Regions from separate parts of the Homo sapiens genome. Here regions 1, 2, 3, 5 and 6 are each linked to region 4. Evidence: promoter capture Hi-C in 16 types of primary human blood cells and fetal thymus (Javierre and others, 2016). All regions are on one chromosome and are shown on one strand. Each heading gives the region's core, a stretch centred on a gene start or on the middle of the fragment in contact. The rest is flanking DNA. Distances are from core to core; before and after follow the strand shown. Region 1 has its middle 21 kb from the start of MIR548AP. Region 2 holds the start of LINC02883 (long intergenic non-protein coding RNA 2883). Region 3 has its middle 42 kb from the start of MIR548AP. Region 4 holds the start of AEN (apoptosis enhancing nuclease). Region 5 overlaps KLHL25 (kelch like family member 25). Region 6 overlaps AKAP13 (A-kinase anchoring protein 13).

Evidence for each region. Contacts are between HindIII fragments. The CHiCAGO score rates a contact against its expected background, and 5 or more counts as called.
Region 1: a contact is called between a fragment that was not itself captured here and the fragment with the promoter of AEN in region 4, in 4 of 17 cell types (endothelial precursors, M0 macrophages, M1 macrophages and 1 more). The highest score is 15.7, in endothelial precursors.
Region 2: a contact is called between a fragment that was not itself captured here and the fragment with the promoter of AEN in region 4, in 1 of 17 cell types (M1 macrophages). The highest score is 5.6, in M1 macrophages.
Region 3: a fragment that was not itself captured here is called in contact with the fragment with the promoter of AEN in region 4 in 1 of 17 cell types (endothelial precursors); the score reaches 5.8 in endothelial precursors.
Region 5: a fragment that was not itself captured here is called in contact with the fragment with the promoter of AEN in region 4 in 1 of 17 cell types (M2 macrophages); the score reaches 5.2 in M2 macrophages.
Region 6: a contact is called between a fragment that was not itself captured here and the fragment with the promoter of AEN in region 4, in 1 of 17 cell types (non-activated CD4 T cells). The highest score is 6.5, in non-activated CD4 T cells.

What each region holds. Positions count from the first base shown.
Region 1 is chr15:85,844,700-85,849,332 of GRCh38, forward strand. No RefSeq gene overlaps it. Among named protein-coding and RNA genes, the nearest start is that of MIR548AP, 21 kb to the left of the region's middle. The HindIII fragment of the contact is 657 bases long and covers 2,412-3,068 here.
Region 2 is chr15:85,754,619-85,759,152 of GRCh38, forward strand. LINC02883 (long intergenic non-protein coding RNA 2883) reads right to left here and starts at 4,107. Exons shown (of 6, transcript NR_120366.1): 1 at 3,893-4,107; 2 at 3,633-3,730; 3 at 3,266-3,371; 4 at 1,204-1,338; 5 at 900-1,037; 6 at 323-623. The HindIII fragment of the contact is 1,562 bases long and covers 1,297-2,858 here.
Region 3 is chr15:85,865,169-85,869,354 of GRCh38, forward strand. No RefSeq gene overlaps it. Among named protein-coding and RNA genes, the nearest start is that of MIR548AP, 42 kb to the left of the region's middle. The HindIII fragment of the contact is 2,596 bases long and covers 522-3,117 here.
Region 4 is chr15:88,618,765-88,623,137 of GRCh38, forward strand. AEN (apoptosis enhancing nuclease) reads left to right here and starts at 2,576. Exons shown (of 4, transcript NM_022767.4): 1 at 2,576-2,618. RefSeq lists enhancers at 1,784-2,457, 2,458-3,131, 2,461-2,620, 4,107-4,373 and a silencer at 2,641-2,830. The HindIII fragment of the contact is 13,176 bases long and covers 1-4,373 here.
Region 5 is chr15:85,772,440-85,776,460 of GRCh38, forward strand. The region is part of intron 1 of KLHL25 (kelch like family member 25); the gene reads right to left. Among named protein-coding and RNA genes, the nearest start is that of MIR1276, 3.9 kb to the left of the region's middle. The HindIII fragment of the contact is 6,438 bases long and covers 1-4,021 here.
Region 6 is chr15:85,688,590-85,693,171 of GRCh38, forward strand. All of the region lies in intron 16 of AKAP13 (A-kinase anchoring protein 13), which reads left to right. Among named protein-coding and RNA genes, the nearest start is that of LINC02883, 68 kb to the right of the region's middle. RefSeq lists enhancers at 2,911-2,960, 3,111-3,200, 4,141-4,190. The HindIII fragment of the contact is 1,815 bases long and covers 479-2,293 here.

The sequences.
Region 1 (4,633 bases), core at 1,490-3,989, 2.8 Mb before region 4:
TGATAATAAGAACAAACGTTCCTTCTGGCACAGGGAGGACCTCTTCTGTAAGGAGGTGTTATCTCCTTCTTTCAGGAAGAGAAAGGGAAGGGTCAGAATGCCCTTCTTTCATGTATTTTTTAAAGTGCCTATAGCTCAAAATAATCCTTACGCCAGAGCAGCATATGTTGATGTGGCATATTCTGCCAGCTTTCAATGTGCAAGCAGATATTTGTATATTTGAGTACTCTGTGAAGCTGGATTTTAAAAGCTGTCCCAGTATCTTCAATGTCTGGCCAGATATTAAAAGTCACTATGAGATGGGCTCTTTTGTTTCCTGAAGAGCCACTTGGGTAGCTCCTATCAATATGCAAGGGGAGGAACGGTAGATAATCCTTTCCTGGGAACAGAGGCTAACAGGATGCTTTATCTGGCTCTTCAAGGCTGCTTCTCCCCTCCAAGTGCAAGGGGATGTGGCTGGGGGAGGTGGCGGGAGTTGGAGAATGCATCGACTTGCATTAGAAGCCTAGAGGCCTTGTGGAAGGAAAAGGACTGATATTCCAACCCCTGTCTGGAATTAAAAGATCAGGAAACCTGTAGGAGTATAGAACACTTGGTCCTGAGCAAGGCCCTATGAGAGGAAAGGACGCCAAGGGCCTTGGAGTACAAACTCACTGTGAGGGAAGGTGAGATGGTGACCCTTGGATTTGTGAGAAGACACGGAGCCGGCTCTGAATGTGGCTGTGGTTGGGGATCCAGGCATGTCCTGTGCTTTAGGCAGAGTTTGTGCCTATGAACTAGGAAGAATAACTTGAAGTTCCAGTGTAGAACACTACTCTTGATTGTACAGATCTGGGCCAGCAAGGGTCTTAGCTGGAAGGAGGCAAGGGGGCTTTGGGCTACGCTGGGACAGTGTTCAGAGTGATGGTACAGAAGCCACTGTGTGAATTGGCCAATTGAACTCATTGGTTTGCCTCTCTTTTCTTCCTTTCCTTTCTTTTTCTTTCTCCTCCTTCTACTTTCCTCTCTCTTCATCTGGTATTGGAAGGTAGAATTTTTGCCAAAGGTGCCAAGAACACTCATTGGGGAAAGGACAGTCTGTTCAATAAATGGTGCTGGGAAAACTGGGTATCCATATACAGAACACTGGAACTAGATCTTGATCTCTCACTATTTACAAAAATCAAATCAGAATGGATTAAAGACTTAAATGTAAGACCTGAAACTATGAAACTATTAGGCAAAAACATTGGGGAAATGCTCCAGGACATTGGTCTGGGTAAAGATTTCTTGAGTAAGACCTCACAAACACAGGAAACCAAAGCAAAGATGGACAAATGGGATCACATCAAACATAAAAGCTTCTGCACAAACGCAAAGAAAACAATCAGGAAAGTGAAGAGACAACCTACAAAAATGGGAGAATATATTTTCAAATTGTTCATCTGACAACAAATTAATAATCAGAATATAAGGAACTCAAACGACTCATATATTATTTTATGTATTATTTATATATTAATTGCTGAATACAATTTCTCAAATCAGTGGCGTTTATAATGTATGTAGATGTACCATAATGACAATAGTGGTAGAAAGGACTAGGCGAGGTTAATGAAACGATAATGTCGCAAGTGACTCAAAAGCCAATAGAGGAGTTAAAATAGAATACTAAAAAAGTTTGATTAACCCAAAGGACAGTAGAAAAGAAGGAACAGAGGAACAAAAAAGAGATAGGACAAATAGAAAACAAATAATAAAATGATAGACCAACATATCAACATTTGCATTAAATGTAAAAGGACAAAACATAACAATTAAAAGACAGAGATTATCAGGCTGAATAAAAAAGCAATTCCCGTCTTTATGCTCTATAAAGTGTGCCTATAAGGACACCCTTCTAATGTAAAGACACAGATAGTTTAAAAGTAAAAGAATGGAAAAGTACATACCATGAAAATAGTAAGTATAAGAAAGCTGGTGTGATTATAACAATATTAGACAAAATAGACCTCAAGGCAAGGAGTATTATGAGATACAATACAGATTATTTTATAATAATAAAAGAACCAAATCAGCAGGAACATACACCCCTTCTATATGCATATGTGACCAATGACAGAACTTCCAAATGTATGAAACACAAACTGAGAAGATTAAAGGGACAACTAGGCAAGTCAACGATCCTGGTTGAATATTTTTAACATCCCTTTTTCAGTAATTAATAGAACAATTAGACAAAGGCATCAGTAAGAATATAGAATATGTAAATACTATCAGTTACCTGGACCTAATTGCCATTTATAGGAGATTATACCCAAGAACAGAATACACATTCTTTTCAAATGCACCTGGAATATTTACCAAGTTAGACCATATGCTGGGTGATAAAATAAGTCTTAATAAAATTCAAAAGATTAGGAAAAAAAAAAAGCTTAACAGTGCAGGTTGCTGGACTGATATTTAAACAGCTCCCTGGGTCATGATCCCAAAGCTAATGTGGGAGAGCTCTATGACTGGAAATGGACATTTACAAGTCAGCAGATGATTCCGGCAGCATTTTGCATAGGAGATGAATGGACATCTGGATTCACAGAAGCTGGATTTGAAATAAATTCTCTATGTCGTCCAGCCTGTCTGTCTCAGTCCCTGAGAATATTTCTGGTAATCTATTTATCACTGATTTGAGAACAAAAGGGGATTAAACTGGCCTGACCCTCGAATTTTCAGCTCCAGACTTTCTGGTTCTTCAGCACCTGGGAAGAATATTAACTACTCATAGTAGAATGAATCACGTTGAGATACAATATTAAATAATGTGTTTTATTAAAGGAGCACACTGGGTTGTAAAATGTGACACTGAGTATTTCTCTACAAGCAGACTTGAAATCTTGCGATTCTTTCTAAACATGTAAAGCCTGTGATGGGTGCTCCAGATGATAACTAGCTCTATATTTCCCAGAGTAGTACCTTTCCAACCCAATCCTTACCCATTTTTCTTATTTTTCTGTGCTTTAATATTATTCCCATAATATGATCATATTATCATCAGAGTGACTATGAATAATGCTTTGGCTGTTTTATAATGAAGCTTCTCAACATGATTGATGCTGTGGAAACTGATCATTAAGCTTACTGGAAATGCATAGAAACAGCTCCTTAGAGTAACTGTAAAGAGGAATTTTATTCCAACACTTGAGCATCACATTCTGTCTTCTTTCTGCTCCAAGTCTCTCTTTCTCCATCTAATCCACTTACACCCCCACTGAATACAGACTCCTGAGTTATTGTGATAATATGGGAAAGTGATAGCATGGAAAAGTGAGAGTTCAAAGATAATTTCCCACCTGGGATCAGGCTGTCTACTACATGAAGAGTACAAAAAGGTGGGAAACAAAAGGGGAGTCTGGATGTCTAATAATTTTTTTTTTTTTTTTGCAAGAAGCTTTGAAATTTTGCCATGGTGGGTGCAGGATACCCAGAATGTCAGCTCAGCTGTTCAGACCTAGATCTCTTCTCTTAAAGATGCATTACCTGTAAAGTGACCCCATGGATGCCTTGTGTTTGATTCTTTATCATCCCGGGGCACTGGTGTCTGAGGGGTACCTGTCCCTTCCGTGCCCTTTCTAAGTCTTACTCACAGTCATTTGCAATAGCTGTCGTACATATCTTATCACCAGATCTATGAATGTTTCCACATAGGGACACCATTGATATTGTGGTGGCTAATGTATTATAAGGGTTATCTTAATTATTCTTTTTTCAGTCAGACACTTTAGTATTGCATAGACCCTATCATTATTGCCATATTAACACAGATCTTCAATAATAGGTCCCTATTGTTGGGCTCAGGGCCAGGTAATTTACTCAGGTTGATGAGGTGGCATTATTCTCATTTTACACATGAGCAAACAGAGATCTAGTGAATTTAAGTGATTTGCCAAAATGCACATAGTAAATTACCAGGTGATCCAGACCCCTGGCTCTTTCTAACACACCAAACTGCCTCAACATGGTAAAATGGGAGTTTGTAAGTTTGTTGATTATACAAGTCAGTTGATTTGACCTTCCATTAATTATAAGTCATTAACTCCCATCTGGCAATTCAAGCCACAAAATGTTCCAAGATAGGACAGGAATTTGTAGTGTCTTTAATTTCTGGTATTTGCACATTCGATCATTGTTGATGTGCTCAGTTTCGTTAATCCCTTTGTTACAAATACAGCACACCTTACTCAGCCCATGAACTCCTGCCACCCTGGACAACTATTTTGATTCACTGGGCCCACTAGGATGATCCAGAATGACCTTCCTTATCCCAGGATCCTTAATTTAATCACATCTACAAAAATCTTTTGCCATATAAGATAACACATGCACAGGTTTGGGATGTTAGGATGTGGATATGTTTGAGGGTCGTTATCCTGCCTACCAAAACTATTCTGCCATCATGGCCAAGCCAGAACTTTATTTTTCATCCTCCCTGCTTAGCACAAGGCTGAGCATGAAGTAGGTTCTTTTTTTTTTTTTTTTGAGACAGAGTCTTGCTCTGTCACCCAGGCTGGAGTACAATGGCACAATCTCAGCTCACTGCAACCTCTGTCTCTGGGTTCAAGCGATTCTCTTGCCTCATCCTCCCGAGCAGCTGGGATTT
Region 2 (4,534 bases), core at 828-3,327, 2.9 Mb before region 4:
CCTGAGTAGCTGGGAATACAAGCGCCTGCCACCACGGGGGTTTCACCATGTTGGCCAGGCTGGTCTCGAACTCCTGACCTCCAGTGATCCACTTGCTTTAGCCTCCCAAACTGCTGGGATTACAGGTATGAGCCACCGTGCCCGGCCAGAAACATACATTTTTACTGAAATTGCCTTCAACTCCCCAGAAAGCTGGAATACTTTCTTTCTAGTTAATTTTCACACACACACACTCTCTCTCTTAAGTTGGAAACGTATATGGGGCAAAGGAAATGGACATCATTGACAGAAATCTAGTAGCCTCTTTACCCGATTTAGTTCAATCCTTACAACAGGCAATATGATCTGTTTTTTTCTTTGTTATCAATGAGGAAATGAAGTTACAGGAGCAGAGGGACCTTCCCAAGGAGGGCCACCAAGTAGAAGAAAAGCTGCTGTTTGCACCCAGCTGGCTTGACTGCAGTGTGGCCCCTCACGCTGCACAGCACAAACTGAGGACCCACGTCCTGAGGCTCAGCTGAGGGAGCCAAGCACATGGGCTGCAAAGATCTGGCCTTGATCCCGGAGCAGAGCTCACACTACTGCTGGGAGGAGGAGACAGGCATGGCAGGGACCTCGCAGGCCTACAGGAAAGGCAGCCACAGCTGGCAACACCAGCTTGGAGGGCAGACTGGGAGCTGAAACCCCGCCCCCCCACACCCCGGCCACCTCTCTCAGGCAAATGTCACAGCTGCATTTAACAGTGCTGGCTTTTCGGTATGGCCTCAACTCCCATTTTAAAAATCTCACTATTTTCCATGGGAAGTGGGGAGATGGAGAGAGGGAGAGACAGGACCTGCTCCTCGACAGTCTTGGATGAAGCCCTAGTTAGGGTTGTACAGATGAGAGACACAGAGTACCTCAACGTTCACTCTGCAGAGTGGACAGAAGCGGGGCCAGCTTCGAAAGCGTTGAGGAAGCTCACAGGAGCCAATGTGAAGAAAGTGCGGCCATGGAGGAGTCATCCGTGGCACTCGCTCTCAGAGCCTGCATTTATCCTGCATGCACGTGTCAGGATGAGACTGTGCCATCCTGTTCCCTCTGCGGTCCCGACGCTGGTAGAGCCACCACAGGGTGGGCTTGGCAGGATGTGTCTCTTGCTCCCATCCTCCCTGGTTCCCCACCATCCCTGCAAGCTGAGTGGAGAAGCTGTGATGAGTCTACCTGGAAATGGCTTTGGAGCCCTGGGTCCTGGCATGGAGCTGGTGCCCATCAGTAGAATTACTTAATCTATCGTGCAACCCAGGAGTGTCTGGAAGCTTCTCTGCGTACCAGAGCAACGCTGCTCATCTCCTTTACCTGCAGAAAGGACAGGAAAGGAGTCCAGCCCTACTAAATTCAACTCAAAAAAGCCACTGCTCCCCTACTGCAAGCCCTCAGGGGCCCGAGCGCCAGGTGCCAAACCCAGGCCAACCCCAGGGCCAGAGCAAGGCCCCTCAGGTTCAGGGGGCCTGGGCAGCTGGGGCCAGACACACAGAAACTGCCAGAGCTTCTGCTGCCATGCTGAGCATGTTTCCTCAGCTTTAAAATGGTGACCTCAACAGTGACTGGGGCTAGGCAAGGTGGCTCTCACCTGTAATCCCAGCACTTTGGGAGGCCGAGGTGGGCGGATCACTTGATCACTAACCTCAGTCAGAGGTTAGTGAAAACAAAGGTGTCATTCTTCTCCCACCCAAGTGCATGGACCCCCTGAATTTGATCCCAAATCCCAAGTTAAGAAGCCTCCGGCCTATTCTAGGCTTTTCCTTGACCTTTAATGAGGCAGAGCCACATCCCAAAGCCCAACAAGGCAAGGGAAGATGCAGGACAATACTGTGCCCGTTCTGGGAAATTCACCCAAATCACCCTGGCTCCCTGGGCAGGGCCTGAACCTCTGCAGGTGCCATGGGCGGGCCAAGCTGCAGGTCAGGTAGGGTTGGGCCTGAGGGAAGAAGAGCAGCTGGGGGGCCGATCACCTTCATGGCCTCTTCAAGTTGGAAGAGACCATTCCCACCTCCTGAAGGAGAGAGGCCGGGCAGATCCATCGGGGCTGGGCCTGGGGCCGGGGCTGGGACATGATGGACGGGGCATGCAAGTTTCTTGCTCTGCGAAATATCCCCCCAGTGATGATCCAGAAGAACCAAGGCTCTTTCCAAGCTGTGCTCATTAGACAACTGCTTCTGAAGAAGTTGCTTCTTTCCCCACTATGATTCTACAGCCTTCGGTGTTGAGCAAGGGATGGTTGCCACACACCCTTGGGGTGGATGACTCTGGGCTCATTCTTGTCAATTCCTGACCAAAGAAATGTCCTTTGAAGGCAGGGAGACCTGGCTGAGCAGCCAGGTGGAGGAGGCAGTTGGCTACCCTCTCCTTGCCCTTGGCAACTTGACAGTCCCCCCAGGCAGGCTCTCAGGATGCCAAAGCCTCCAAGATGGCCCGTTTTCTTTCCTGCATCAGGCACAACCCAGGAAAGCTCCACTGGCCATCTTGGGACCGAGGTTTCCAGGGAGACCTTGCCCCATCACTGATGGGGAAGGCGCCTTCTCCCTTCCCCAAGCCCCATCCCAGACTCAGTCTGACCCCTGGGAGGCCAAGGAACATGGAGCTAGGCCTGCTGGGCAATGACTGGAAGCAACACTGCTCCCAGCCCCCAGCCCCCACAATGTAGCATATGGCTTGGTTTCAAATCCCAGTTCCACTGCTGTAATGTGGCGGCCATTCTCCCCCTGTAAAGGGCTATCTGGGCATTGGTCCTGGTGTTTAGTGCTTTATAGAATTTGACCTCAACTTTTAACCCTACTATCATTAAGTCTGTATCAGAGAATCAAGTGGTTTAACCAAGCTTGCACATACATGAGAGCCACACGTGAGAGCTTGAACCCAAACTCAGGTGGGCCTAGCTCCAAATCCACATTCTGTCAGTTGCAACCGTGTTTTTTCCTCCTCCTCCTCCTCCTCTTTCCAGCATGAGACATTGGGCAAGTTACTGTGACCTGTGGACCCATTTCTTCATCAGCAAGAAGAGGACAAGAATGTCTACCTCCGGGGGTCACTGTGAGGGTTAAAGGAGGTAGTTATGCAAAGCACTGGCCAGTGGGCTTGACAACTGCTTGACAAGAAGGGTTTGACAAGAGCCAGGATCTTGGCAGATGACGGCTCTGCATGCTCCCAGAGAAGCGGGAGGCAGGGCGGTGTGCCCAGGTTCCTTCCAACCCCTGACCCAGCATGTAGAGGAAGAGGCTGCTACCTGTCTAATATCTACGCTCCCTTTACTTGGCGTTGGAGTCCTGGAGTTTCCTCGGGGCACTTTCCAGTCCCGCTCGCAGTCAGGCGTGGATGTGACTGAGTTCTAGCTGTTGGGAAAATGGAGAAGTTATGGTGCAACTTCTGGGACATGCCCTTAAAACAGGCTTGCCCATCACTTTCTCTCCTCCCCTTTCCACTGGCTGGAATGCAGATGGGATGGCCGGGGCTGCGAAGGCCAGGGTGGACCAGGAAACCGCTGCCTTGCATGGAAGACGGCAGGGCAGGGAGAGAGGGGGTGGGAGTTGGAGAGAGAGGGAGAGAGGGGGAGAGAGTTGGAGCCCTGTGGGCCACAGCTGGCTCACACTCACCCTGTGACTGTGTGACAGGGAACTTCACCTCTGCTGCTGTCTGGACTCTAGCTGGAGCCAACTCCTGGCTTTGGATGCCCAGAGTGAAGCGCTCAGGCCTGTGTGGAAGTGGTAGCGTTCACCTGTGGTCCCCACCACTGCTACAGGAGCAGACAGTGCGAGGCAGAGTCCCAGGATGCCCCTCCCAGGGCTGCACCTCTGGGCAGGGGGAGGGACGAGGCCCTCTGTGCTCTTGGCTCTTCTACACGCACCATACTCACCTCTGAGACACACCCGCTCAAGATCATTCCATTTTCTAAGGAATCTGGCGTCATGCCCCTACGCCAGCATCAGAAGCACTTCTTACACTGTGAAGGCGCTATTTGGATTTTGTGGGCCAGCACACCACTGAGCACCACGGAAGCCACTGCTGAGAGCCACCGTGCTGGGGCACCTCCGGGTTCCTGTTCACAGCAGAGCCACCCTGCACGCAGGCTGCGCCACGGCATGACCTTCTCGGGCTGCCCGCTGTCTGAGGGGCGCCTGAAGGTGAGATCACAAAACACAGAACACGATGTTTACCCGTGAGCATACGCTTGAGCTCATGAGGTTCATGGTGACTATGAAAACGCACAAGGAGGGCAGGTAGCCCAGGGCCCACGGTGCAACCAGTGGGCGCAACGGTGCCGTGAGCTGGCGCTGCGGCCGTGAAGCTGCCTCCTGGAGCCATTTCGCCCCTCTGAATGGCGCTCGGGTTATTTTCAGACAAAGGAGCATCAACTGGAGGTTCTGCCTTTTCGAATGGATGGAATTACATTCCCAACTTCTATTTACCAGAGTTTCCAGGAGAGAATCACTCTCAGGAGGGGCAGACAGGATCAGGACTCTCCACGGAATCAACTTCATGGCTTCTAAAGCAACTT
Region 3 (4,186 bases), core at 570-3,069, 2.8 Mb before region 4:
AAGTACTTACACCTTTAACCTCCAGGGCATTCCTTCCCAGGCTGTGGAGGGGGGCTCCTTAGCCTGCAGTGACCTGGAATATGTTTCCAACTTTGCAGAAGTGCTGAGATCCACAAGATGGCAGCAGCCGCTCAAGCTTCGCACAGGGTCCCTGCTGCTTTTGTAATTCCCAAATTAAAAACCAAACCAAACCAAACCAAACGTACATCTGCAATCTGGAAGACGCCAGGAAAGATCATTCATTCTAGGCCTGCCCCCTTTACATCCAGAACTGTCCACATCAGAATCAATGTGAGCAAACTGCTTATAAAGGTCTTAGGGAAAAGGAATCTCAATTGTTGACTCAATTGATTCATTTATTTATTTACTTCTTTTTCCATCCTCCCAACTTTTCACTCTGAAAAGTTTCAAACCTATAGAAAAGCTGGAAGATGAACATCTTCTTGGTCTTCACTGGGATTCATCAAATTATCACATTTAGCCACATTTATTTCATCTTTCTCTCTCTTCCTCTGGATGAAAGCTTTGATAGTTGCAGACACCCTGACACTTTACCTCTCAATAATTCAACACGTCTTCTAAGAATAAAGACATTTCTTTATATAACCACAACATCACCATATCCAAGAACCTTAACATTGATACATTACTTAATTTATAATCACATTTAAATTGCCCCAACGGTCCCAGCAATGTTCTTTACAATAATTTTCTTTCTTTCCCTTCCTTCCTTCCTTCATTCCTTCCTTCCTTCCTTCCTTCCTTCCTTCCTTTCTTTCTCTCTGTCTTTCTTTCCTTCCTTCTTTGAGATGGAGTCTCACTCTGTGGCAGAGGCTGGAGTGCAGTGGTGTGATCTCAGCTCACTGCAGCCTCTACCTCCCAAGTAGCAGGGATTACAGGCGTGTGCCACCACACCTGGCTAATTTTTTTGTATTTGTAGTACAGATGGGGTTTCACCATGTCAGCTAGGCTGTTCTTGAACTCCTGACCTCCAATGATCCGACTGCCGCGGCCTCCCAAAGTGCTGGGATTACAGGTGTGAGCCACCTCGCCTGGCCTATAGTAATTTTCAATCCCCTGCTACAGAGTCCATTTGAGTATCACACCCTCATGTAGTTGTCATGTCACCTTTTTTGTAGAGCTCTCCTCCTCCGCTTTTGATCTTTTATGACATTGACATTTCTCAACAGTCCGGTTCATGTGTTTTGTAGAATGCCCAGCACTCTGGATTTGTCTTACTGATTCTGGATTATTAATCCAGGTTAAGTATCTTGGCAAGAATACTACCAGGGCAATCTGGCATCCTTCCTGTTACATCACTTCAGGCGGCACATGATGTCATGTGGTCCCATTACTGACGATGCTAAATTTGAACACCTAGCTAAGGTATCAGACCTCGGGCAGAGAACTCATTCTTGTCCTGCGCCTGCAGCAATCCTGAACGGCCACCCCACCTCCTCCCTTGACTCGCTGGTCTGTACGCTCCCTGCAGCAGCCAGAGAGATGCTCTGAAAGTGTTAGTCAGATGAGGCCATGCCTTTGCTCAAAACCTTCCTATGGCTTCCCACCATGCCCAGAATAGCTTCCAAACTCCTTGCCATGCCTTCACAGCCCTGCATGGTCTGGCTGCTGTCTAACTTCTTTTTCAACATTAAAATTAAAAAAAATTTAAAATAAAAAAATTTTAAATTGGCATAATAATTGTACATAATTATGAGGTTGATAGTGAAGCTGCAATACACATAATATATAGTGATCAGGGTAGTTAGCACACTCACCATCTCAAACACTTATCACTTCTTTGTGTTGGGAACGTACAACATCCTCCTTCTAGTTACCCGAAACTATTAATATCTAGTATCTTATTGTTAATTATGGTCATCCTACAGTGCTATAGAACACTGCAACTTATTCTCCTCATCTAGGTGTGATTTTGTATCCTGTAACAAATCTCTCCCTATTCCTCCCTGCCCTCTATACTTCCCAGCCTTTAGCATCTTCTGTTTTACTTTTTACTTCTATGAGAGCAACTGTTTTTAGCTTCCATATGAATGAGAACATGTGGTGTTTAACTTCCTGTTCCTGGCTTATTTTATTTAACATAATGTCCTCCAGTTCCATCCATGTTGCTGCGAAAACAGGATTTCATTCTTTTTTATGACTGGATAGTATTCCTTTGTGCATATACACCACATTTTCTTCATTCATCTTTGTTGGACACCTAGATTGGTTTCATATCTGGGCTATAGTGAATAGCGCTGCAATAAACGTGGGAGTGCAAAGTCTCTTCAATATACTGATTTCCTTTCCTTTGGAAAACTGCCCAATAGTGGAATTGCAGAACTTACAGTAGTTCTATTTGTAGTTTCTTGAGAAGCCTCCACACTTCCTCCATAGTGGCTGTACTAATTTACAATCCCATCAATGGTAGATGAGCTCCCTTTTCTCCATATCTTCACCGGCATTCGTTATTTTTTGTCTTTCTGATGATAGCCACTTTACACTCTAACTGGGTGAGATGATACCTCACTGTGGTTTTGATTTGCATTTCCCTGATGATTAGTGATATTGAACATTTTTTCATTTATTTGTTGGCCATTTGTATTTCTTCTTTTGAGAAAAATCTGTTGAGATCATTTGCTTCTCCTCCAGTCCACCCCCACTGCTTTGTTTGTTTGTTTGAGACAGTCTGTCTTTGTCACCCAGGCTAGAGTGCAGCAGCATGATCAAGGAGCACTACAGCCTTGACCTCCCAGGTTCAGGTGATCCTCCCACCTCAGGGCCTCCTATCCCCACAACCCTGGTCACTGACCATACCCAGCTAATTTTTGTATTTTTGGTCGAGATAGCCTGCCACATTGCCCAGGCTGGTCTCAAACTCCTGGGCTCATGTGATCCTCTGGCCTCAGCCTCCTGAAGTGCTGGAATTACTGGCATGAGCCATGATGCCTGGCCTTTTTGCCCATTTTTTAATTGGATTTTTTTCACTGTTGAGATATTAGAGTTCCTCATATATTCTGGATATTAATCCCCTGTCAAATGAATAATTTGCAAATATTTTCTCCAGTTCCGTAGGTTGTCTTCTCACTCTGCTGATCATTTCCTTTGCTGTGCAGAAGCTTTTTAGGTTTGATGTAATCTCATTTATTTATTTTTGTTCTTGTTGCCTATGCTTTTGAGGTCTTCTTCATAAAATCTTTTCCCAGATCAGTGTCCTGAAGCATTTCCCCTATGTTTTCTTCTGGTAGTTTTACAGTTTGGGGTCTTACATTTAGGTCTTTGATCCATCTTCAGTTGATTTTTGCATATGGTGAGAGATAGGGGTCTAGTTTCATTCTTCTGCATATGGATATCCAGTTTTCCTAGCACCATTTATTGAAGAGACTGTCCTTTCCCCAGTGAGTGTTCTTGATTTCTTTGTCAAAAATCAGTTGGCTGTAGATACCTGGATTAATTTCTGGGTTCTCTATTTTGTTCTATTTGTCTGTGTGTCTGTTTTTATGCCAGTACCATGCTGTTTGGGTTATTAAAACTTTGTAGTATTTTTTCTTTCTTCTTTTTTTTTTGAGACAGAATCTCCCTCTGTTGCCCAGACTGGAGTACAGTGGTGCGATCTCAGCTCACTGCAACCTCTGCCTCCCAGGTTCTAAGTGATTCTCCTGCTTCAGCCTCTGGAGTAGCTGGAATTTACAGGTGTGTGCCACCATGCCTGGCTAATTTTGTATTTTTAGTAGAGACGGGGTTTCACCATGTTGGCCAGGCTGGTCCCAAACTCCTGGTCAGTGATCAACACACCTCGGCCTTCCAAAGTGCTGGGATTACAGGCGTGAGCCACTACACCCAGCCTCTTGGTAGTATATTTTGAAGCCTGGTTGTGTGATACCTCCAGCTTTGTTTTTTTTGCTCAGGATTGCTTTGGCTATTAAGGATCTTTAATGATTCCATACAAATGTTAAGATTTTTTTTTCTATTTCTGTGAAGAATGCCACTGGTATTTTGATAGGGATTGCGCTGAATCTGTAGGTTACTTGGATAGTACCTGCCTACCTTCTGACCTTGTTTAGCTGTTCTCCCTCCTGCTCACTGTATTTACCTACCTGGCCATCTTTCGGTGTTTTTGGAGACATCAAACTGCACTTTCAGTTCTCTCCACCCTTAATGTTCTGGCACAGTGCCTCCCTCTTAT
Region 4 (4,373 bases), core at 1,326-3,825:
CCTGATAATTATCTATACTCATGTATTTATTTATTTATTCATTTATTTGTTTACTGGAGACAGGGTCTGTCTGGCTCTGTCACCCAGGCTGGAGTGCAGTGGCTCAATCATAGCTCACTGTAACCTCTAACTCCTGGACTCAAGGGATCCTCCCACTTCAGCCTCCCCAGTAGTTGGGACTGTAGGCACACACCTCCACATTTATTTATTTTTGTGAAGACAGGATCTTGCTATGTTGCCCATGCTGGTCTCAAACTCCTGGCCTCAAGCAGTCCTCCAGCCTTGGTCTCAAGAAAATGTTTTTAATGACCTAACAACATGATTAGATCCTCCTTGGATCTTGGTGAAAGCAAAGAATGAGAAACCACCTGACTTGTAGAAGGATTTCTTGCCCCGTCCTCAACAATAATTAATACATTATTTAGAATTGCCCTATTGTTTCTCCTGGAGACTTTTATTTCCCAAGGTAATGCAGCAGAGCAAGATTTAGAACAGGTGCAGTGTGAATTGCCTTTGAAAAGTGGGAGACAGCTGGTTACACATGAGGAGAGGGAAGCTGAACCCCAAAGACCCCAGGCATATTCTGAGGCCCAGCACCATGGAAGCAGAGGATCTGGATATTGACTCTCTTAAAACTCTCCTTGGTTGGGTGTGGTGGCTCACGCCTGTAATCCCAGCACTTTGAGAGGCCAAGGTGGGTGGATCACGAGGTCGGGAGTTCGAGACCAGCCTGACCAACATGGTGAAACCCCATCTCTACTAAAAATACAAAAATTAGCTGGGCATGGTGGCACGTGCCTGTAATCCCAGCTGTTCCTGAGGCTGAGGCAGGAAAATTACTTGAACCCGGGAGGCACATGTTGCAGTGAGCCGAGATTGTGCCACTGCATTCCAGCCTGGGTGACAGAGTGAGACTCCATCTCAAAAACAAAAACAAACAAAACAAAAAAAACTCTCCTTGCCCCAGATTTACCTCCCACAGTCCCCATGCCTGAAGACCGCTGTCCTATAACCCCTTCCCCTCTGCTCTCTGATCAACGCTGCCTCCTAAGTAGCATTTGAATCTGTCATTTCAAATGCTACTTAGGTGGGGAGCTCTTTATCCTCCACACCACTCTGGACATCATGATCTTCCAAATTTCCACAAACACTCCCCCACTCCTTTCTCCAGTCCTCATCCATTCCTCTCTATGCTGCAGCCAGAACAAGTTTTTTCAAATGCAGATTCACTGGTAAACTATCTATGGCTTAAATCCCTCTGCCTCCCCAAAGCCTTCAGGGGCCTGGGTAAAAGGATTGATCTCTCTTGTGACCTCATCCCTTGTCCTGCTTCCCTCAAATTTGTACTCCCATCAGAAAGAGCTCCTAGCTTATTTCTCATCACAGGTACGTTTCCAAATCACTTCTGCTTGCAAAATGTGAACTAAGAGAAGTCAGACTGCTTAGGTAAGGATCTTTGGATTCTAGGTGTTTCTCCTTAATTTAAGTGTCAATTTCCTTAACTGTAAAACTGAAATAATAGTAAGGTCATTGTACAAATTAACTGAGTATTTTGCCTGGCACATCATTCGTGCTCACATAATACGTGTGAACTGTTTATTATTGTTCTTGTTATTACTCATGTTACACTGAATTTTCTTTCTTTCTTTCTTTCTTTTTTTTTGAGACGGAGTTTTGCTCTTGGTGCCCAGGCTGGATGGAGTGCAATGGCGCGATCTCGGCTCACTGCAACCTCCGCCTTCTGGGCTCAAGCGATTCTCCTGCCTCAGCCTCCCGAGTAGCTGGGATTACAGGCTCCCGTCAACGCCCGGCTAATTTTTGTATTTTTGGAGAGATGGGGTTTCATGTTGGTCAGGCTGGTCTCAAACTCCTGACTTCAGGTGATCACCTGCCTCGGCCTCCCAAAGTGCTGGGATTACAGTCGTGAGCCACCGCGCCCCGGCCTCATGTTGCACTGAATTTTCTGTTAACCTTGCTGTTTCCCTGCTGTTAGATAAACAACTCAGGATGCTTATGTGTTTATTGTGTGCATCCCACTGCCAAGCCCACGTAGGAACTTAATACTTAGGAGTCAAGTGTTGCAAAAGAATAAATGAAAAAGCAGCGCTGACGGAGGAAACCTGACTTTCAAAGTCTCTCTTTAGTGCCTACTGTGTATATTATTTCCTTGAATCCCAGAACACCCGAGGAGGTAAGGGCCGATGTTCCCAATCTGCAGATGTGGGTGTACTCAGTAAGTCATTCGGCCTTTGGTGGTACCAGGCTTACAGGAGCCCACATCCCGACCCAGGTAGAGGAGTGGATTGGAGCCGGGGAACACTGATGGGACCGGGCAGGGACGACAGGAGGTCAGTCTCCCTTCCCTTCTCTTTAAAATTTCCCGCCAGTATGGCCGGCTCGCAGCACGAGTTACGCCCTCTTCAGGAGTCCCTCCCCTTCTGCTCTCGCCCGCCTCCCCGCTGCCAGGCAGGCTCGACCAATCAGAAGAGGTCTTGGGCGGGCGCTGCCGTCCAGCGAGCCAATAGGCGGGCAGTCGGAGCCGGGCTTGCCCGGGCATGTGGGAGCTGCCGGCTTTCCGGACGCCACGTGCAGACCGGAAGAGACACGCGGGGCTTCAGGTGAGATCCAGGACCCTGCACCGGGGCGGCGGGGTCGGGCGGGCTGAGGCCGCGTGTCCCGGGTCGCAGGTCCCCGCGCGTTGTTTCCGCCCCGGCCTGCGGCGGGGACGCCTGAACTGGGCTGACCCTGCCCTACCGGCCCGCAGAAAAGCAGGCCGGGCGCCGCCTGTCTCCAGCCCTCGCTCTGCTCGGGGGTCCAGGGCCAGAGGGGGCGGCGCTGGTCGTTGGGACTCGGCCCAGCTGCCGCGGCCAGCAAGTGACCAACGCCCGAGTCCTTCCCGGTGAGATCAGGCCTCCCACGCGTCACGCCTGGGAGAACGCCAGCCGGCGGGGAGGTCGTGCCAGGATAGCAGACTTTAGTTGTTGTCGTTGTTCCGTGGACTTTTTAGCAGCACAGGGGACCTTATCGAGCCAGGTTTTTTCAGGTTTGGGCGATTATCAGAATTGTGGCTTGAGGGTAGGGGTCGTCCGCGCTCTTTTTAAAAATCTAGATTCTCAGGCCCCTTTCCCCAAAATAGCAATTAGGACGGTGTGGGAGTGGGCCTGAAAATCAGCCTTTCATCAGATGTCATATGGTAATTAACTACATTTGGGAAGCCCTTATCTAATTCACAGCCCTCGGTTGATGGTGAAGAGACGTGACTTGCCCCAGATCATCTAGCTACTTAGTGCCAGAGGAGGGTCTAGAACTGCCCTCTGCCCTCTTGATCAGCCAGCAGGTTGGTGGCTCTCATGCCACCGAGGATTCTGACTTCTTGGTTCCTTTGGGGCCTTTGCTCCATTGACTCTGCAGCTGGGACCCTTTCTTTAGGCCAGACCCCCTCCCTGCCTGAAGGCCGGGTGTCTGACCCCCAGAGCGCTGGGTCCAGGCTAGAGAAAGGCTTGTGTTTGTCCTTGTTGAAAGGGTTGTTTTATCTGAGCGGAACTTCTCTCCAGCTTCACTGAGCTACATTTGGGTCCCCAAAGAGGTGTGTCCTTGATGACTGTTGGTTTTGACGTGTCAGCATGTAGCAGGAGGAGCCGCGGACAAAACCCCACAGAGGTAGTGAAGGAATTGGCTTTTAATCAGCTGGAAGCATCGGCAGACTAGCATCTCAAAATCCGAGCTTGTTGAGTGCACAGTTTCTGTCCCTTTTAAGGACTCACAACACTAAAGATTTTACAAGAAAGGGCCATGATTGATTGAGCAATCTAGGGGGTATGTGACAGGGACTGCATGCACCGGTAGTCAGAGTGAAACAGAACAGAACAGAACAAGAGATTTCACAGTGTCCTTCTATACAATGTCTGAAATCTATGGATAACATCGGTTGCTAGGTCATGGGTTTAATTTTAACTATCAGGCTAAGGTCAGGCAGGCCCAGGCCTGGTTTTGGGTCTGGTTTTGGGTCTGGTGCGTGGCGCCGGGCTGCCTGCCTTTGGTTTTGCTTCCTTGTTTCTTCTTAAAACAGGTACTGAGTATAAAATAATACAGAACAATATGAGGGGGAGGTCTCTTTCTCTCTTCTCTTAAGCAAGGTCAGGGTGTTTGGAAAAGGACTACTTTCCTCTCTTGAAATAGGAGGCTACAGAGACCTTTTCTCAGATAACTTAATTTCTGGCTTCTTTAAAACCTTGCCAGTAGGATCAGGAAAGCCACCCACCCTACTCCTAGCCTCAGCCCCTCACAGAGAAAGGAGGGGACTATCCGCCAGCCCCCTTTCCCAAATTAGTTATTAGCAGGGTGGGCATTGGGCTTCTTAGGCTTTTTTCTCC
Region 5 (4,021 bases), core at 1,479-3,978, 2.8 Mb before region 4:
CAGCTTGAATGCCTGGGCTTGGACACTCCAAGTGTGGGGTGAGCCCCTCTGGGATTCTTCTTACAGACAGCCCCAGCTGGAATCCCAGCTCCTCACCTTAGTAACTACGGCCCTGGAACCAACACACCTAGAACTAACTCCACTCTGGGGCACTGTGTTAACTGGGCTGCCTGCGAGAGTACCCAGGCAGAGACTCCCTTTGGAGGGGGTTATGGGCAGGACAAAGCAAGACTCAAAAGACCGAGAAAGCCAAAAAGCAGGGCAAATTGAAACAGGGCAGCCACAATGGTCCAGAGAAGGAGGCAGAGCAGTGACCTCTCCAAGCCAACAGTGAGCGGCAACCCAGGGTCCCAGAGCTGACAGATACCCTGCCAAAGTCGGCACCAAGAATGCCTGCCTGCTGATGCAGATGCTGGCAACTCATGTACACGCCCAGGCAGGTTCCCACCCCCTAGACAGCCGCCAGCCTGGGGCACCTCTGTGCCAAGGGCGGAAGCACCTGCCTAGTTGTTTCCCCGGTTTGTCCCATCTCCTTCTGGGCAGCGCCTGCCCCTGAGCCAATCTTCCACTGATGGCAGCCACTCACTCACCGACTCAGCCTGATCCCAAGTGAGGCACTGGAGCCCCACTTTACAGGCAAGGATGCTGAGGCCCACACAGCTTCTGGGCATGTTATTTGTGTACTGTCTCCCAAACTGCACAGGAGGCCCAGAAAGGCAGGGACCATGTGTGGGGCTCACTGATGTGACCTCAACACCCAGGACAGATCCCGGCACAGAGGTCACTTGACTTGATGGCATGGACCTGTCCATCTCTTCCTATGCCCATGATGAAGCCCTGAGACACAGCACACGAAACTCATTCATATCAACTCCACCATGACTGCCAGCCCAGCCACTGTCAAGACCCAGAGGAGAGGAAGGCCGAGGCAGTGGTGAATGCTGCCCAGGCGGCTGCGACACCTGACATGTGGTAAACGCGTGTCATTTTACTCACACCAGCACAATGCCGCCTCCTCCTCGCACTCACACCCTGACTGTTCTCTGGGAACCACCTGCCTCCAGGCAGCTCAGCGGGTGGCATCCCGGGGTGGGCACTGGGCCCCAGGTGCTGCACATCACTGGGCCCTGGGGATCAGGTGGGGAGTGGACACGTGCCAGGCCTGGCTGATGAGCTAGTGTCATCCTCCGAACTGCTGTGATGGGGCCTACACCCAGGACAGACCAGTGGGACTCTATACTAAGATGTTCACTGGAACTTTGAGGAACGAAGCAGGCCCTTTCCCTAGGACTGCTGACCGGACTGGACCAGGGCTGGGAGTGGGAAGGGGTGACAGCCGTGTTGCCACCTACCCAAGATGGAAGCCTGCGCAGAGGGCCAAGTGGAGCCCTGTGGTCCTCTGGTCCGCCCCCTTTTGCTGAGGCCTGTCACTTAAGGACTCACAGGGTCATCAGTGCCCTGAATTGGTGACCAGGGGCTGCTTGTCTCGGTAAGGGGTCTTAGCTATGTGTCCCTCCACCCCTTCCATCTAGCAACCAGAAGAATGGTTGTGTGTGATTATTTTCAGTTGCTCAAGATATATGTGTTCAGTACCAGTGACATACCCAGCCTCATAGCAGGGCCTGGGGATGCAAAAGCAGCCCAAGCCAGAGGCTCCCAGCGGCGGGGGGTGGGGAGCATGTGAGAGGGCCCAAAAGCAGGCCCCGGGAAGCCTCCCTGTGCCCATGGCTCACGTCTTTGGAGCCATAATCAATCAGACACTCTCGCTCTGCACATATCACAGAATTGTTCTCATGACCTAAGCGTCGTCCTGAGCTTTGATGGATTTAAGGCACATAGCGTAACTGCACAATGTTGCAATGCCACAGATCAGCAACTCTTCATCCTGCTACGAGGGGTGGATCCACCTTGGACATCGCTGCTCCCCAGGCAATCCTCACCTACAGACTCAGCTAAAATGTACCGGGTAACAATGTGCCCAGCATCCTTCTCCAGCACATCTTTGGAAAGTTAAATGCACAAAGAAACAAACTAGCCAAGGGGTGAGACTTTCTGAAGAAAACTTGCCACACTCACAGAAGATTCCAGTGACCGAAAGCGAAAGGCCTATCCTGAGAGAAATAGGAACCCGGATGCCATCAAAGCTGCTTTTTCCGTGCCAGTCTCAGGAAGGCCTGACTTAGTATGGCTACAGCACTAACCCCTTCCCACCCGCCTCCACTAACCAAGAGTTAGCAAGGCTCAAAACGAGGGTGTCAGCTCCATCATTCTTCACTACAGGATGGGGAAACGAGAGAGGCACAGCGCTCAGCCTGCGTAGTACCCAGGCATGAACAGCTCAAATTATCTCTGGAGCTCAGGGCCAAGCCAATCCGTATGGCCCCCTGGTACAAAATGAAAACCCCTCCCCACTCCCGCAGTGCGATTCTTTTTTTCTTTTCTTTTTTTTTTTTTTGAGACGGAGTCTTGCTCTGTCTCCCAGGCTGGAGTGCAATGGCGCGATCTCAGCTCACTGCAACCTCCGACTCCCAGGTTCAAGCAATTCTCCTGCCTCAGCCTCCCGAGTAGCTGGGATTACAGGCGCCCGCCACCACACCCGGCTAATTTTTGTATTTTTACTAGAGACGAGGTTTCACCATGTTGGCCAGGCTGGTCTTGAACTCCTGACCTCAGGTGATCTGCCCGTCTTAGCCTCCCAAAGTGCTGGGATTACAGGCATGAGCCACTGCGCCCGGCCAGGGCGATTATTTTAGGTTTGCCAGTGTACCTGCAGTGTACCAGTCTCTGGGTTAGCAGGAAAGCACCTTTGGAAACTCGGAAAAGCCAAACCTGGCTTTTGGGCTTTTTGACAGATGTGGCTCTGGACCCAAGCACAAGACTTAGAGAGGAAAATGCAGCTGAAATTCAGGCTGCATGAGGTTGGGTGCCCTTATGCAGTGAACAACCTGCACAGTGATTCACGGCCACCCTGCAGGAGCTGACGCTGACAGAAACCCAAGACACGGCCCTTCCTGGCACCAAGTATGCACTGGGTGCATCGGAGTCAGGATTCCACCAACAATGACTTCATGAAAACACACAGCCGCAAGGACCTCAGCATGTCCCTTTGCCAGGAGTTCCATCATTCCCGTTTTATTGATAAGGAAACAGACTCAACGCCACATTCTTGGAACTTGGGCCTGACTGCAGACTTTGAGCTGCTAATTCCTCAGGAAGGCGGAGGTGTTCAGCAAGCAGTGGCAGGAAAGGAGATGGAAAGATGAACTCCTTGCTCTCCTGTCCCCTCCTGAGGGCTGGCAGCACAAGCCAGGTAGGATGCACCAGCCACCCGGCCTGAGGTCCCCTGCCTGGGTTGCAGAGGCTGTGGGGGCAGCAACCATGTGTGAGGGCGCCCAGCCAGGCTGCTGCCTTTCAATGGCTCGTTTAAAAAAAAAAAAAAAAAAAAAAAAAGCGGCCAGGCGTGGTGGCTCACACCTGCAATCCCAGCACTTTGGGAGGCTGAGGTGGGCAGATCACAAGGTGTGGAGTTCGAGACCAGCCTGGCCAACATGGTGAAACCCCGTCTCTACTAAAAATACAAAAAATTACCCGGGCATGTTGGCGTGTGCCTGTAGTCCCAGCTACTCGGGAGGTTATAGCATGAGAACTGCTTGAACCCAGCAAATGGAGGTTGCAGTGGGCCGAGATCACGCCACTGCACTCCAGCCTGGGCGACAGAGCGAGACTCTGTCTCAAAAAAAAAAAAAAGAAAGAAAGAAAGAAATGCAGGCAGGGCACAGTGGTTCACGCCTGTAATCCCAGCATTTTGGGAGGCTGAAGCGGGCAGATCACCTGAGGTCAGGAGTTGGAGACCAGCCTGGCCAATATGGTGAAACCCCATCTCTACTAAAAGTATAAAAATTAGCTGGGCATGGTGGCACGCACCTGTAGTCCCAGCTACTTGGGAGGCTGAGGCAGGAGAACTGCTCAAACCTGGGAGGTGAAGGTTGCAGTGAGCCAAGATCGTGCCACTGCACTCCAG
Region 6 (4,582 bases), core at 136-2,635, 2.9 Mb before region 4:
TTCAGTTGTATAATTGTGATGATAAACAGTTCTTAAACATGTCCAAAGAAGCCAAAAGCCAGTAGGCAGTAAACTGTTCACATTCCTAGGAGGGTAACATATTTTGTCTGGATCACTGGGTTTTGTATATAAACTTAAGAAATTGAGTCCTTGATCCTATGTCCTTTTGAGAATTATCACCGACTGGCATAAGTGATTAGATTAGATAAATATATTGAATGTGTTTGTGGAAGATGAGAGGGGATGCTAAACAGGAAGTATAGCAGGAAGACTGGCAGTTTCTGCTTTTGTCTTAGTATCTTTGAGAGATAGTGCTGTTTCCTGCTAAGTAATTTTGCGTGTTACAGAGTATTTAAACACTCATATGCATGGTGTTCGAGTTCACAAAGGGAGTGTGGAATGACCCTCTTCAAACCATCCTATCACACTGGTTTTCTTTTTTCTAAACCACAGTTACTTTTGCACCAACCTAATACTAAGCTTTCCTCTTTGTAGACAAACAAGAGGTGGTTAGAAATGTTTTAGACAAATCTATTTGATTTGAAGTAGGTATTTTTGAGTGCACAGGTTAAATTCCTGCACAGCTGCAAGTATACTACATGACTTTGTAACAGGACATTCAGTTACAGCTCCTAGGTCCTGTGGTCTGTATAAAAAAGAGCTGTACCCATAGGCCTTTCAGAAGTGCCTCCTAGAGTAGTGTTTACAAAGACTTAATTTTAAATGTAATTCTCATTCCTTCTTTGATTAAAGATCTGTAACATGACAGTTGTTTGATCATATCATGTTTTCACAGTTGTCCAGAGTGTTCTTTTTATTGTAATTACATGTATAAAGGGGTATTTTTGGAAAAGTGAAGAATCACCTTTGATAGTGTCCTAGTGCAGTTGTTACCTGCATCTATCCCTGTTAAATACCGTTAGCCTGTTTCTCCAGCACACAGCTAAAGCATTTTGCCAGTTGTTAAACATGGAAAAGTCAAACTTCAGAAAATAACTAGTCACCACTTTACACCAGGCAACTTCACTGAAAAGTTTTCTTATGAAACTCACTGCATTTTACAAAATGAGGAGTCTATTTTAAAATAGGTAAGATGTGTTCCTTAACTTCCCGTGTAAAAACTTGGCCTCAAACCTTGCTAGAGTTCTTATATTGCTGCTTAAGCACTGTCCACACACACTGTTTTTGGGGGGAGTGAGGTCTCGTTTCATTTCCTGTATCCTTTGTAACAAGGGTTGTTGGCTTTAGCAGCAGCATTCAAACAGTTAAGACTGTCTTAAGGAAACAAGCAGCCTCAGCCCTCCCTCCTTCCCTTTCTCAGCCAGTCTCTGGCTTCCTCTTACGATTTCACTAATGGCAGCTCAAAGCTGCTGAGCTCTGCCCTGACGGCATGCGCCCCCGCTTCTGTGAGAGCACGCTTCCTGGCATGGGGGTCGAATCATGTCGATAAAATGGGCTCGGTTTCATGAAGTACCCCACATAACAGTGAGATTCATAGGACCAAAGCATGGGGAGGTAAGAGCCTGACTTCTTTAAAGCACTAAATTCTAGTAAACACAGAAAGAGCCAGTGGAGTTGGTTGTTTTGTTTTGTTTCCATCCTGGGAAGAACTAATTTGGATTGTTGCAAAGGGAAGCTATTTCTTATTTATTCAGGTTTGAAGAGCATTGCAAGGCTTGAGAGGATAAGCTGGTTGCCATAAAAAGATTTTTTAAACGATTGAAGTATAATTTAACTTTCCTGAGCAAAAAAATCAGATGCTTTTCCATTTAACATTTTATGCATGGAAAAACCTTTAGCAAAATTTAGTTAAAAGAAAGAAATTATTTGAAAAAACCCAAATTTAGTTGTTGATTATTACTAAAGTTTTATGTACTTTAGTGATTACCAATTTTCACTCAGAACAGCTTCCTGTTTTGTAAAGTGAAGGAGTTTTTCTCCCTTCCTCTCTCATTATTTTTTATAGTTCAAAAGTGTAGTAATTTGGCTCTTAGATGTTCATTATATGTATTTGATTAACAAAAGACTTCACATGAATCATAGATCTAGCAATTATTTACCATTTCATTACAGTGGTTGGGTTCTGAACAGAAAGTCAGAAGACCTGGGTTCCCATTTTGACTGTGCTGATCATCTGTTGTGTGACCTTTTGCAAGTCAACCAACCTCTCCAGTCCCTGGCAGCATAGTGCAGTGTATGAGAGCTGAGCTTTACAGTCAGCCAGATCTGAATCTTAATTTCAGCTTGAGCAGTTATTGGCGTGTGGCCTCAAATGCATTATTAAACATCTCTAAGCTTCAATCTCTTCAGATGTAAAATGGAGATAATACCTAGTATTATCATTGGGTTGTTGTGAGAAAATACATGTAAATTGCTTACTACAGTGCTTAGCACGTAGTAACTGTTCAGATTTTTAGCTGTTATTTATTATCTTTATCCTCTACGTTGTAAAATGGGAAGCATAATGCTCACCCTGCCCACTTCAGAGTTATTGAGTCAGACGAAATGATGTATGTAGAAGACATTGATTCAAAATGTTAAGGCATTTAGTAGTTGTCATGATCACTGACTTGGGACACCCATTTTCCTGGAATTTTTTTAGGACATAACAATGGTATTGACAATAGGTAAAACCTCTTACCTTGTGAATGGTAGGTCTTTGTAGTCCAGTTGGTTTGAAAGGAAATTATTTCATTGATACTGATAAGCCAGCCAAGTACTCTGCCAAACAGTGCTTCTAAAGGACCTTTTATGGAGAGCATGGTTATATCCCCATGGTCCTGGCCTCCTAAGGATGGTGTCCACCTGAAATGTCCCTGACTGCTTTAGATATTTCATTAAGGACCCACCACTCATCAGTAGTTCTTCAAGTTTTCAGTGTTTGAATTCCTTTCCGTTCCTCTTCATGACTGTGTAAGCTTTGACAACAGCCTCTCTTAGATTGAGGCTTGATGTCATATGAGTCCTCTGCTTTCAGTCTGTCTCTAGAACATTTCTGACATTCCTGCAGTATTCTTAAGGTGACATGGCCAACTTAATCTGGCACTTAGAGCTCCTGACTCTCAGCCCAGTGCCCCCACTGTTCACCCAGTCTCATGTCTCATTTGCTGGTGTCCCCTGTGCTTTGTACCTAGCCCGGTTTTGGCCTGCTCAGTAAGTAGAAGCACCTGGGCAGTGGCTGGGCACACAGGAAGCACAAGATGAGTATCAGTTTCTGTTGCCACTCTGACAAGTGAGGGAAGACCACAGGAAAGAAAGGAGCTTCACAAAAGAGGTCAGAGAGCACGGCGTAGGAAGCTTATCTTTCCAACCTAGGGACACTGCCTGCTTTTCCTGCCTTCCTGCACCCCTAGGTACTCAGGGTAGAGGAGTGAGCTACTAAGCCTTGGGACTTCCTTTCCCTGGAACCCCATTTTTTTAAAGGAAGTGACCCTGTTGGTATCTAGCTTGAGGAACAACAAAGGTGGTTTTTGAGAAAAATTATTAACAAGGCTCCTTCCTGTCATCCGTGCATTCTCCTATCCTCCCTGCCCTGCACCGTTGTCCTTTAGCCACTCCCCAATTTCTTCTATCTTCCCTGCTCACATCAAAACTTCCTTTCCCTTACTGCAAGCAATACCTTTCTGTGTTGGCTTAGGAGAATAATGAGCTAATGAAACTCATTTCCAGTAAATTATGAGTAATTAATAATATTGCTAAGCATTATTGTGTATTCACTGTGTGCCAGGCACTGTGCAAAATGCTTTAGAAATGTATTATCTCACCTAATTGTCATATGTTTTAAAAAACATATGAGATGGGTACTTTTGTGATTACTCCCATTTGACAAATGAGAAAACTAAGGCTCAGAGAAATAATTTACCTAGGGTCACGCTATTACTGAGTAGTAGTAGTGGTGGTGGTGGTGATGGTGGTGGTGGTGGTGGTGGCAGTAGTGGTAGTAGTGGTAGTAGTACCTGAATCTGAACCGAGGTCTGGTACCATCGTCCGTATTCTTAACCACTGTACGGTTTTCCAGCCTCCCCTTCTTATCAGTCTCCTCTTGCCGGTTTGAAAATTAGGGCAAAGTTAATATTTACAAACCTTAAAATTCTAATTAGCAGAAACTGAAAATGTATATGTGGGGCATATTTAATATTTCTAACTAGAGTAAAGGAGGAGACTTTATACATACTCCGTCACTTAGGGATATGCAATTGATGTGAGAAAGAGAGGAGCCTCGGTAATTTTTCATGCCACCCAGGCATCTTTTTTTCCCTCAGGCTGATCCCAGAATTGCTGCCACCCTTTTTTCTGCCCTCTGCCTAAAGCTGGCCCTAAACCCATGACTCTCTTCCTGTGTGGACTGTGCTGTAGCTTGCTGAGGAAGGGCTGTACTGAGGTGTCAGAAGCCTCCTTGCAGTGCTGGTCCTTGGGTATTGTGTCTGTTGGTAGAAGTAACCAATGAATAAGCCACTGCCAGAACTGTTCCGCCTGCCCAGTTTTCGTGTGAATTTTCTAATGTAGCTTGCGTGCCAACGCCTTAATTTAAAAAAACAAAACAAAACACTTTGCCCAGAACTTTGTTTCTCACTCCTTTCCA